Linked DNA regions of Homo sapiens: region 2 is linked to region 1. Evidence: promoter capture Hi-C in 16 types of primary human blood cells and fetal thymus (Javierre and others, 2016). All regions are on one chromosome and are shown on one strand. Each heading gives the region's core, a stretch centred on a gene start or on the middle of the fragment in contact. The rest is flanking DNA. Distances are from core to core; before and after follow the strand shown. Region 1 holds the start of CORO2A (coronin 2A). Region 2 overlaps NANS (N-acetylneuraminate synthase).

Region 1 (4,586 bases), core at 659-3,158:
GCTTGAATTAGGCAAGCAGGAAAACAGGGCCCAGATTATACATGTGTCGAGATGACAGGAGACCCAGGTAGCACTTAAGCCTGTGCGTCGGAGCTGGGCTCATGGGCCAGCACATATACTTTGCCTGCTTTTACGAGGGGATAATAACACTCATTTGTGGTCCAGCTCCCAGTCCTGTGCAGCTCCACCATGGCCGCAGGGCAAGGTCATAGGCACTACTTCAGCCCTAGAATTCCATAGACTTTCAGTCCAAGGTAGCTCACCCCCAGGTTCTGCTTGAATACCTGTGATGACAAAGAGCTCACTACCTGTCCAGGGGCCTCCTGCCCTCTTTTGGCTGTTAAGAAAATCCCTGGGTGCAGGGCAGGTCATGAAGGGGACAAGAAAGACCAGGAGGCTGAGAAGTGATTCCTAGAAACTGCTCCCTCAAACAGGGCAGGCATCAGGGAGGTGGAGAAGAGGCCCCATGGGGCAGGAAAGGCCTGCAGAGGGGCTCCGGCTCTCCTCACTCCGGACCTCTCAGACGGTCCCCAGGAGGGGCAGGAAGCTGGGGAGACACATTCCAGTCCTGATGCACAGGTGGGTTCTGAACAAGCCCCAGGAAAGCGGAGGCCCCACAGCCTGCTCCAGGGCAGACACCTCGGCTCCCTCTTCTTGCCTTGGCTCCCTGGGATCTGATGGGAGAAACTGCTGGGCCTGGGGCTGCTGGGTCTGGAGATGAGCATATTTAAGGGACCTGACCACTGCCCCAGGGTGAGGGAGGAAGGGTCAGAGGTTGTTTGTGTGTCCAGAGCAGGACCAGCAGGAGAGGCAGTGACTGGGTAGCAGATTCCAGCTTGGTTTACAACTAGTGAGATTCCTATCACAAGGAGTGTGCAAGGGGGCAGCAAGACCTTCCAGAGGGGATCTTACAGAGGGGCTGGGCCAGATGCCATAGGTCTTCTTTACCTAGGGAGCCTGGGACCACAGTCCCTCAGACCTGTGCTCTGCCCCATCCCTTAATGCCACGCGGACACAGCACCTTGGCACTGTCACCCCTCTGAGGTCCAGGCGTGGCCGCCAGTCACCCCTTGTCACACCAGCTAGTGTGTGTCACACCTTATCACACACTAGCTCTGGGACACAGAGCTAGGCACCAGCACCTGGCCCGGGTGGGGAAGGGGAAGGAGCTATCCTATACCACTCTCTAAATCGAGGTGCCTACGTGGGGCTGGTCCAGGCAGTCGTGCCGCCAGGAGTCCAGCCACCTCCAACCTAGGGCTCCTCCAGCCCCAGACGAGTAAACCCTCTTGGCGGGCCGGCTGATGCCCCACATGCACGCCCAGGCCGGCTTGGCGGGGACCCGGGGATGCCCCCCACCCCACCGTTTCCTGTACCAGGAAGCTGAGGCCCAGCAGGTAACGCAGCCAAGAGGGGGAGGGTCCCGACAAGAGTCCCATGGAGCACCCGGGCCACAGCAGGGGCCTGTCGGGACCGGCTGGCCGCGCCCAGAGTGAGCTTCCCTCACCGCGGGCAGGAGGGGTGGGCGGTGCAGACAGTGCTCATGAGGGCAGCGAGCCGTCGGGAGCCCGGACCTCGAGGCGGCCCCTCCCAACAACCCCGCGAGAAGGGGGCCACCAATGAGCAAGCTATCCTGACGGGGAAACTGAGGCCTGGAGAGGAGCAGTGCTTTGTGCAAGGTCACGCAAAGGGGCTGAAAGCCAGGTCCCCCGCGCTCCGAGCCCCGCATCCCTCCCTCTCCGGGAGCTGCAGCCGCAGCGCGCACGTCCCGCCCGACGCCCCCATCGCGCAGACCGGGAAGGCACGGCCGGCGGCGCAGGGCCGCCCTACCTTGATGACTGCCGCGCAGGTGGCGGTGGCGGCGGCGGCGTCCAGCTCCGGCTCCGCGCTCCTCGCCGCCCGCCGACTCCCGGCGCCCAGAGCCGCCGCCGCCTCCCCCTGCAGCCCGGCGGGCGGGGCCGGAGGGCGGGGCGGGGGCCTGGCCCAAGGTCCGCCCTTTTGCCCGCCCCGCGGGTCCGCCCTGGCCACCCTTTTCCGCCCCCACGACCCCGACCGCGCTCCTGGCTCCCCGGGGCGGGTCTCGGGGCGCGCACACGTGCTGGGAACAGGCGCGCACACGCCGCAGTGATTGGGGCGGGCTGCCGGCCACCAGGCGGAGGCTGGGGACAGGCAGAGCCGCGGGCCCCACGTCGCGCCGTGCCCTCGCTGCGTGGTGTGGGATGAGGAACCTGACCTCCCGGAGCCTCAGTTTCCCCCGTTGTGAAATGGAGACAGTAACCGCGTCGGCCTCTTAAGGCTGTTTGAGCCCTGGATGTGACGATCCCGGCCGGGTACAGTGCGCGCGCCGAGCCCGGCCAGGGAAGCGCTCCTTTCCCCGAGCAGTTACAGCGGTTACCGAGGCTTCCCCGTCCGCAGGGAGGAGAGGAGCCGGGAGCGCCGCTGGGAACCGAGGAGGACGCCCTTCCTTCTCTCGGGACCAGCCGGGGGCGCTGCTGCCAGCCTCGCTGGCTGGAGAGCCCTGAGGACACTAGACAATGGGGAGGCCCTACCTTTGGGTACCACCCCCACCTAACACTACTGAGCCACGCACTCCTCTAAGCGCCTTCTGTGCATTACCTCGCTTCACTGTCACACAGGCCTATGAGGTTGATACCATTACTCACCTATTTAACACAAAAGAGCTGAGGCACAGAGATATTAAGTACCTAGGTTAAGATCACCCGGCTAGTCATGCAACCCCAGGCAGTATGGCTCCCACGGCTACTAAGCTAACAGCCACTCCACTCCACACCACGTCTGTGAAGAGCTCTTGGTTTTGTTCAGTAGAGACGGGTTATCTTGAGGGCCTTGAACTGCTCCGTGGCACATAGTAACCACTCAATATATAGTTGTGGAGTGGATAACAGAGTACACTGTTACTACTTTACATATCTGTATCGTTTCTTCTAAGCTTCTAATAATAGTGGCTTTATTTAGCCACTATTATTACCTCCATTTTACAGATAAGAAAACTGAGGCTTGGAGTGGCAAGGTACTTAGGGAGCTCTTGATTCTCTCCTTAGAATGTGACTCAGCTTCCATAGTCCACTGTACCACCCCCCTGCCCAGAGCTGGACGGGCTCCCTGCCTACCACCCAAAGCCCAGTGTGCACTATGGTCCTGAAAACCCCATCCTACAGCTCTGATTCAGACCTTCTGGAGCTGGATTGCCCAGCAGGTAGACTGAACGCATGCTTCTGGTGTTAGCGTGCAAGAGTTGGGTATCAAGCATATGGATGGCTGGGCGCAGTGGCTCATGCTTGTAATCCCAGCACTTTGGGAGGCCAAGGCAGGTGGATTGCTTGAGCTCAAGAGTTCAAGACCAGCCTGGCCAACATGGTGAAAACCTGTCTCTACTAAAAATACAAAAATTAGCCGGGCGTGGTGGCATGTGCCTATAGTTCCAGCTACTTGGGAAGCTGAGGCAGGATAATCACTTGAACCTAGGAGGTGGAGGTGGCAGTGAGCCGAGATCACATCACTGCACTCCAGCCTGGGCTACAGAGTGGGACTCTGTCTCAAACAAACAAACAAACAAACAAACATATGGATGAAATCAGAACATTGTGGGAATTCTTTATAATCATGGTTTGGTTTTTACTTGAATTACAGCTGGACGGTGGGCACCATGATCTTTCCCAGGCTAAGGCATCTGAATAACTTTGTTGTTGTTGTTTTTGCATGGTTTTGTTCTGTCGCCCAGGCTGGAGTGCAGTGGCACAATCCTAGCTTGCTGCAGCCTCCACCACACAAGCTCAAGCAATCCTCCCACCTCAGCCTCCCGAATGGCTAGAACTACAGGTGCGTGCCACCATGCCCAGCCAATTTTTATATTTTTTGTAGAGATAGGGTTTCGCCACGTTGCTCAGGCTGGTCTCCAACTCCTGGGCTCAAGCAATCTGCCTGCCTTGGCCTCCCAAAGTGCTGGGATTACAGGTGCGTGCCACCACGCCTGGCCTTGAATGTCTTAATTCACTTAGGGCTTGGGCCAGCATCTCTGGTGTGGCTTTCTACCTCTGCCAATGCCACTCGCCTTGCACTCTGACATCTCTGAGCCTTTGCTCTGTCTGCAGTTCTCTTCCCAAATCATCATCTCCCTTGTCTAAACCCACTCATCCTTCCAGGCCTAGCCTTCCTAGATGTCCTATGGATGTGCCCTCCAAGGCTTGCACCTGCATCTTCCTACCCTGTGCCATGGTGGTTGGTGGCTGGGACTGTTTGGGGAACAGCTGGTTTGACAGAGACATCTCTGGGGGCTGTGGGCATATGGACCCATAAGCCAGAGGGAGACCTCTGCAATGAACCTGGGACCCTTCCTGGGGTTGCTGTGGCTGGGGAGTGTCCTCCTCTCTTGCCCCTTCCCTCCCTCTAATCCTGGTCCAGATGCAGGATTGCACACATGGGGAAACTGAGGCCACAGTGGGCATGACCTACGCAGGATCCCCTAGCTAGAAAACCACATAGCAGATCTGGTTCCAAAGTTGGGCCCATCTCCTGGCATCTTCTATTAGGCCTTAGTGTGGATTGGGATGGGCCAGGAAACCTCC
Region 2 (4,586 bases), core at 2,087-4,586, 120 kb before region 1:
GCCTCCTGAGTAGCTGGGACTGCAGGCACACACCACACACCCGGCTAATTTTTATATGTTTTGTAGAAACGGGATTTCGCCATGTTGCCTAGGCTGGTGTCAAACTCCTGGGCTAAAATGATCCTCCTGCCTTGGCCTCCCAAAGTGCTGGGATTACAGGCATGGGCTACCATGCCTGGCCAGAATTAATAAAGTTCTGAGTCGAATAAGTTTGGGAAACACTGGGTTTGGAACTCAGCTAAGTTGATTTACTGGGACCCTCTAAGAAGGCATTAAGGCAGGGTAGTGTTTCTCCCAAACGAGGCTATCCATGGGACCCATTTCTGCATGTTGAACTCAGCTGGGAGCCCGAGGAGAGTTGTACATGCCTGAGCTCCCTTCAGACTCCCACAGACTTTGTGCTATGGGGCAGGAGGGAGAGAGGAGTGCTGAGGCTGCCGGGCTGCATGGAACCCCAGATAGAGGGAACCCGATAGCACGGTCGGCAGGCTAGGGGAAGTCAAGGAGTCCCTGAAGAGAAAGGGGTCACCAGTTGCTGACCCAGCCTGTAGTAGCCCCTAGGCACAGCGATACTGTCTTAGGGCTGAAAGTTAGGATCTTCCAGATTACTCAGATTCCCTTTGCCCGATGGCTCTGAGTGGCAGTTTTCTAAATGTCCACTGGGTGGCGCTGGCTCCCCAGGAGGCGGCAAAATGAGGCGCCCCTTCCCTTTCCAGCAGGAATTGGCCTTTTTCTTTACTTGAAAATTACAGAATTCCATGCAGATTTTACAGCCTCTGTAGGTAAGCTTTCACAAGGTGTTTTTCTGCACTTGTCCCCCCTCCTTGCCCCGATCGCTCTGCCCCTCTCTTGGGGGGGTTTCTGCTTCTGTTTATGCCCTGGTGGGCCACACCACACTCCCACAAGATGAACATTATACAAAAGAAAACTCAGTGGAAGGTTCCTTCTTTAAACAGAAAGCACTCTCTTCATCTGCCAAATGAAGTGAGAAGGGTAGGAAAATTAGATTTTATTGAAAAAATATATTTAAAACTGATGTTTTTTCAGTTCTGTCTTAGGGCTAGTTAGCAGTGTTATGAGACACAAACAGGAAGGAGTGAGGTGGAAAGGTATGGAAGGTACTGGGCATGGCAGCTGAAGCTTGCAACCCCAGCACTGTGGGAGGCCAGGGTGGGACAACTGCTTGAGGTCAGGAGTTTGAGAACAGCCCGGGCAACATAGCAAGACCCCATCTCCACAGCAAATTAAAAAAAAAAAAAAATTAGCCACATGTGGTGGCACGTGCTTGTGGTCCCAGCTACTTGGGAGACTGAGGCAGGAGGATTGCTTGACCCCAGGAGTTTGAGACCAGTCTGGGCAACATAGCAAGACCCCGTCTCTACCACAAAAGAAAAGAAAAAGATGGAAGGGGAAAAGAGAAGAGTTAAAAATAAAGCAGAGGAAGAGCAGTGAGAAAGGTGAAGGAAGGGAGGAAAGGAAGGAAACGGTGGGAGGGAGGGAGGAAGGAAAGGGAGAGAGGGAGGGAAGGAAAGGGAGGAAGGAAAGGGAGGAAAGGGAGGGAGGGAGGAAGGAAGGGAGGGAGGGAAGGAGACAGGAAGGGAGGTAGGTTGGTTGGTCCGTCGGTCCGTCGGTCCTAGACCAATCAGAGTTTGCATTTCATTTCAGCAACTTCCCTGGGAGAGGGAAAGATTTGTGCCCATGTGATCAAGTGTGAGCAACTCACTAAGCCCTAACTTATTTCTGAGTCACCATTCAGAGACATTGATTTTTTCGACTTTTGATTTCCAACTTCAAAACAAAACAAAGGGACTCAAGAAAACTTTTGAAGGTGATGTGTATGTTTATTACTCTTGTGCTGATGGTAGCAGTAGTGTATACTTAAGTCCCAACTCACCAAATTACATTATGTGCAGTTTTTAGTATATCAATTACACCTTACTGAAGCTGGAAAGAAATGATAATAAAAAGTTTTTGAGTTCTTATAATTTGACAGCAAACTGAGATTTTACTCTTATAACTTGTGATCCACTGATTCCTTCAGCAAGCATTTGCTGACATTTACCAATTTCCTGAGTCTTGTTGATGAATACTAGAGAAGGATGTTGAAGAGCACTAAATAGGTAACCTCAAGCAGTGACGTTATATCTGAAAAAAGTGACTGAGGTTCACTTTTAAGTAGGCAGCGTGCTTTGAGGCCTGAAAGGGCTCGGGTTGAATGGGCCCTGCCAGCCATGGATCCTTATGTAGAGGCTGGGCAAAAAAATGCTCCATTTTCCCCCTTTCGCCAAGAATTGAAATAGCCCCTTTTCCTGCTCGTTTGGCCGAGTAGAAGGGAAAGCCTTTGAGGCTATTCATGTTTTCACTGCCTGGTTTTCTGGGTCAGGATTAGGTCATGACCGTTTCATGTTTGTTCATTTGGCCTTGGGCCCCTGGGGCAGGTAGGGTCTGGCCAGGGGAAAGGTTCTTTTCCAGATTCTTTTTTTTTTTTGAGATGGAGTCTCGCTCTGTGGCCCAGGCTGGAGTGCAGTGGCATGATCTCAGCTCACTGCAACCTCCGCCTCCCAGGTTCAAGTGATTCTCCTGCCTCAGCCTTCTGAGTAGCTGGGATCACAGGTGCCCGCCACCACACCCGGCTAATTTTTATATTTTTAGTAGAGACGGGGTTTCACCATGTTGGTCAGGCTAGTCTCAAACTCCTGACCTCAGGTGATCTGCCCGCCTCGGCCTCCCAAAGTGCAGGCATGAGCCACCACGCCCAGCCCTTTTCCAGATTCCTGTAGCCAGCAAAGACCAGCACCAAACGTTTGTTGGGCTAATGGATGGGTGGATGCAAATGAATGTTTGCATTTGAATGAAATGACTGAGAACAAATCTTTGCCTGCTTTCAAGTTGCTGAGCGTCCCTCTACTGCCTAAGATGAGGGGTTTTTCTACTTGTATGTTATTCCTTGCCTGTCATAACAACAGTGTTTTTGGACAATGGTGAAAAGGAGCTCCCTCTTTGATTTTTGTAGATGGCAGTTGAATTCCTGCATGAACTGAATGTTCCATTTTTCAAAGTTGGATCTGGAGACACTAATAATTTTCCTTATCTGGAAAAGACAGCCAAAAAAGGTAAGTGTCTAATTTTTGACTTAAAATCGAAGGGAGTCCAAACCTTCATATTTTTACTCCCCTCATGGTGGCCCACTTTCAGCAGATTTCATGAAGACAAATTTTAGCCTCTTTTCATTTTTTTAAATAGAGATAGGGTCTCGCTGTGTTGGCCAGGTTGGTCTTGAACTCCTGGCCTAAAGCAATCCTCCCATCTCGACCTCCCAAAGTGCTAGGATTACAGGCATGAGCCACTGTGCCCTGCCAGAAACCTCTTTTCAATCAGCCTGTACTTCCATTTTTTGTAAGCTAATTTGAAAGAAAATGAATTAAGAATATGACAGTTTTTATAAGACATTTAGAAATTCTTTTTAAGAATTTTTTTTTTTTTTTAATAGAGACAAGGTCTGTCTATGTTGCCCAGGTTGGTCTTGAACTCCTGGATTCAAGTGATCCTCCTACTTCAGCCTCCCAAAGTGTTGGGATTACAGGTGTGAGCCACTGCACCTGTCCTAGAAAATTTTTTAACTAAAATTTATAAGAAATTAAGGATATGACAGTATATATAAAACCTAGCTGGGTATGGTGGTGCATTACTGTGGCCCCAGCTACTCGGGAGGCTGAGGTAGGAGGATTGCTTGAGTTTGAGACCGCAGTGGGACATGATCGTGTAAAGTGGTTTTACAACATGAACAATTTCATTTGATCCTCATAACACTCCTAGGACTGAAACAGGTCATGATTATGATGCTTGATACTTATTTCACAGGGGAGGCCTCTGAGACTCAGAGACGGACAGTACTCTGCCCAGGCACAGCTAGAAGTGGCAGCTCCACACCTCACATTCATTCACACTCTTGAATCAGCACTCATTCTACTGTACTGCCATGGTATACAACCTATTAATCAGATAAGATACTCATTTTCCTCTTGGCAGTGTGAAATTCCTCTGCCTCTTTAATTCAGTTCCTTTTGCTCAAGAACACTGTCGGGGGGCAGAGGGGAGCCCACCTTTCCTGTGGCCGAGGGCAGGAACCCAACAAGCTCCTCTCTGTTCCCCCACAGGGGCTGGCACAGTGTTTTAAGAGATGTCTGTGGAGTTCAGTTGAATGATGAGACCAGCAGTTGGGATGTGTTGGGGAGAGTCAGAACCTCTAAAGAGAAAGTGCTGATGGTGTTGGTGCTGGATTACTCAGGTCGCCCAATGGTGATCTCCAGTGGGATGCAGTCAATGGACACCATGAAGCAAGTTTATCAGATCGTGAAGCCCCTCAACCCCAACTTCTGCTTCTTGCAGTGTACCAGCGCATACCCGCTCCAGCCTGAGGACGTCAACCTGCGGGTCATCTCGGTGAGCAGGAGGGAGGGGGTTCCCTTCTTGGGCCATTTACTATGGGGAAGGCGTAGTCTTTTTTATAACCAAAATTCTAACAAACATGGCATACTTTATAATTTGAACATCCTTTGACAGTCTTGCTGTTACCAAATCAAATT

Evidence for each region. The method cuts DNA at HindIII sites, captures the fragments that hold promoters and counts their contacts. A CHiCAGO score of 5 or more calls a contact.
Region 2: a fragment that was not itself captured here is called in contact with the fragment with the promoter of CORO2A in region 1 in 15 of 17 cell types (total CD8 T cells, non-activated CD4 T cells, naive CD4 T cells and 12 more); the score reaches 15.1 in total CD8 T cells.

What each region holds. Positions count from the first base shown.
Region 1 is chr9:98,190,729-98,195,314 of GRCh38, forward strand. It overlaps CORO2A (coronin 2A), which reads right to left and starts at 1,909. Exons shown (of 12, transcript NM_052820.4): 1 at 1,831-1,909. RefSeq lists an enhancer at 762-1,416 and silencers at 1,569-1,618, 1,689-2,238. The HindIII fragment of the contact is 3,890 bases long and covers 1-2,948 here.
Region 2 is chr9:98,073,905-98,078,490 of GRCh38, forward strand. NANS (N-acetylneuraminate synthase) reads left to right here. Exons shown (of 6, transcript NM_018946.4): 3 at 3,014-3,113; 4 at 4,289-4,443. It also overlaps a transcript of TRIM14 not described here. Among named protein-coding and RNA genes, the nearest start is that of NANS, 19 kb to the left of the region's middle. RefSeq lists an enhancer at 729-1,535. The HindIII fragment of the contact is 4,397 bases long and covers 1,139-4,586 here.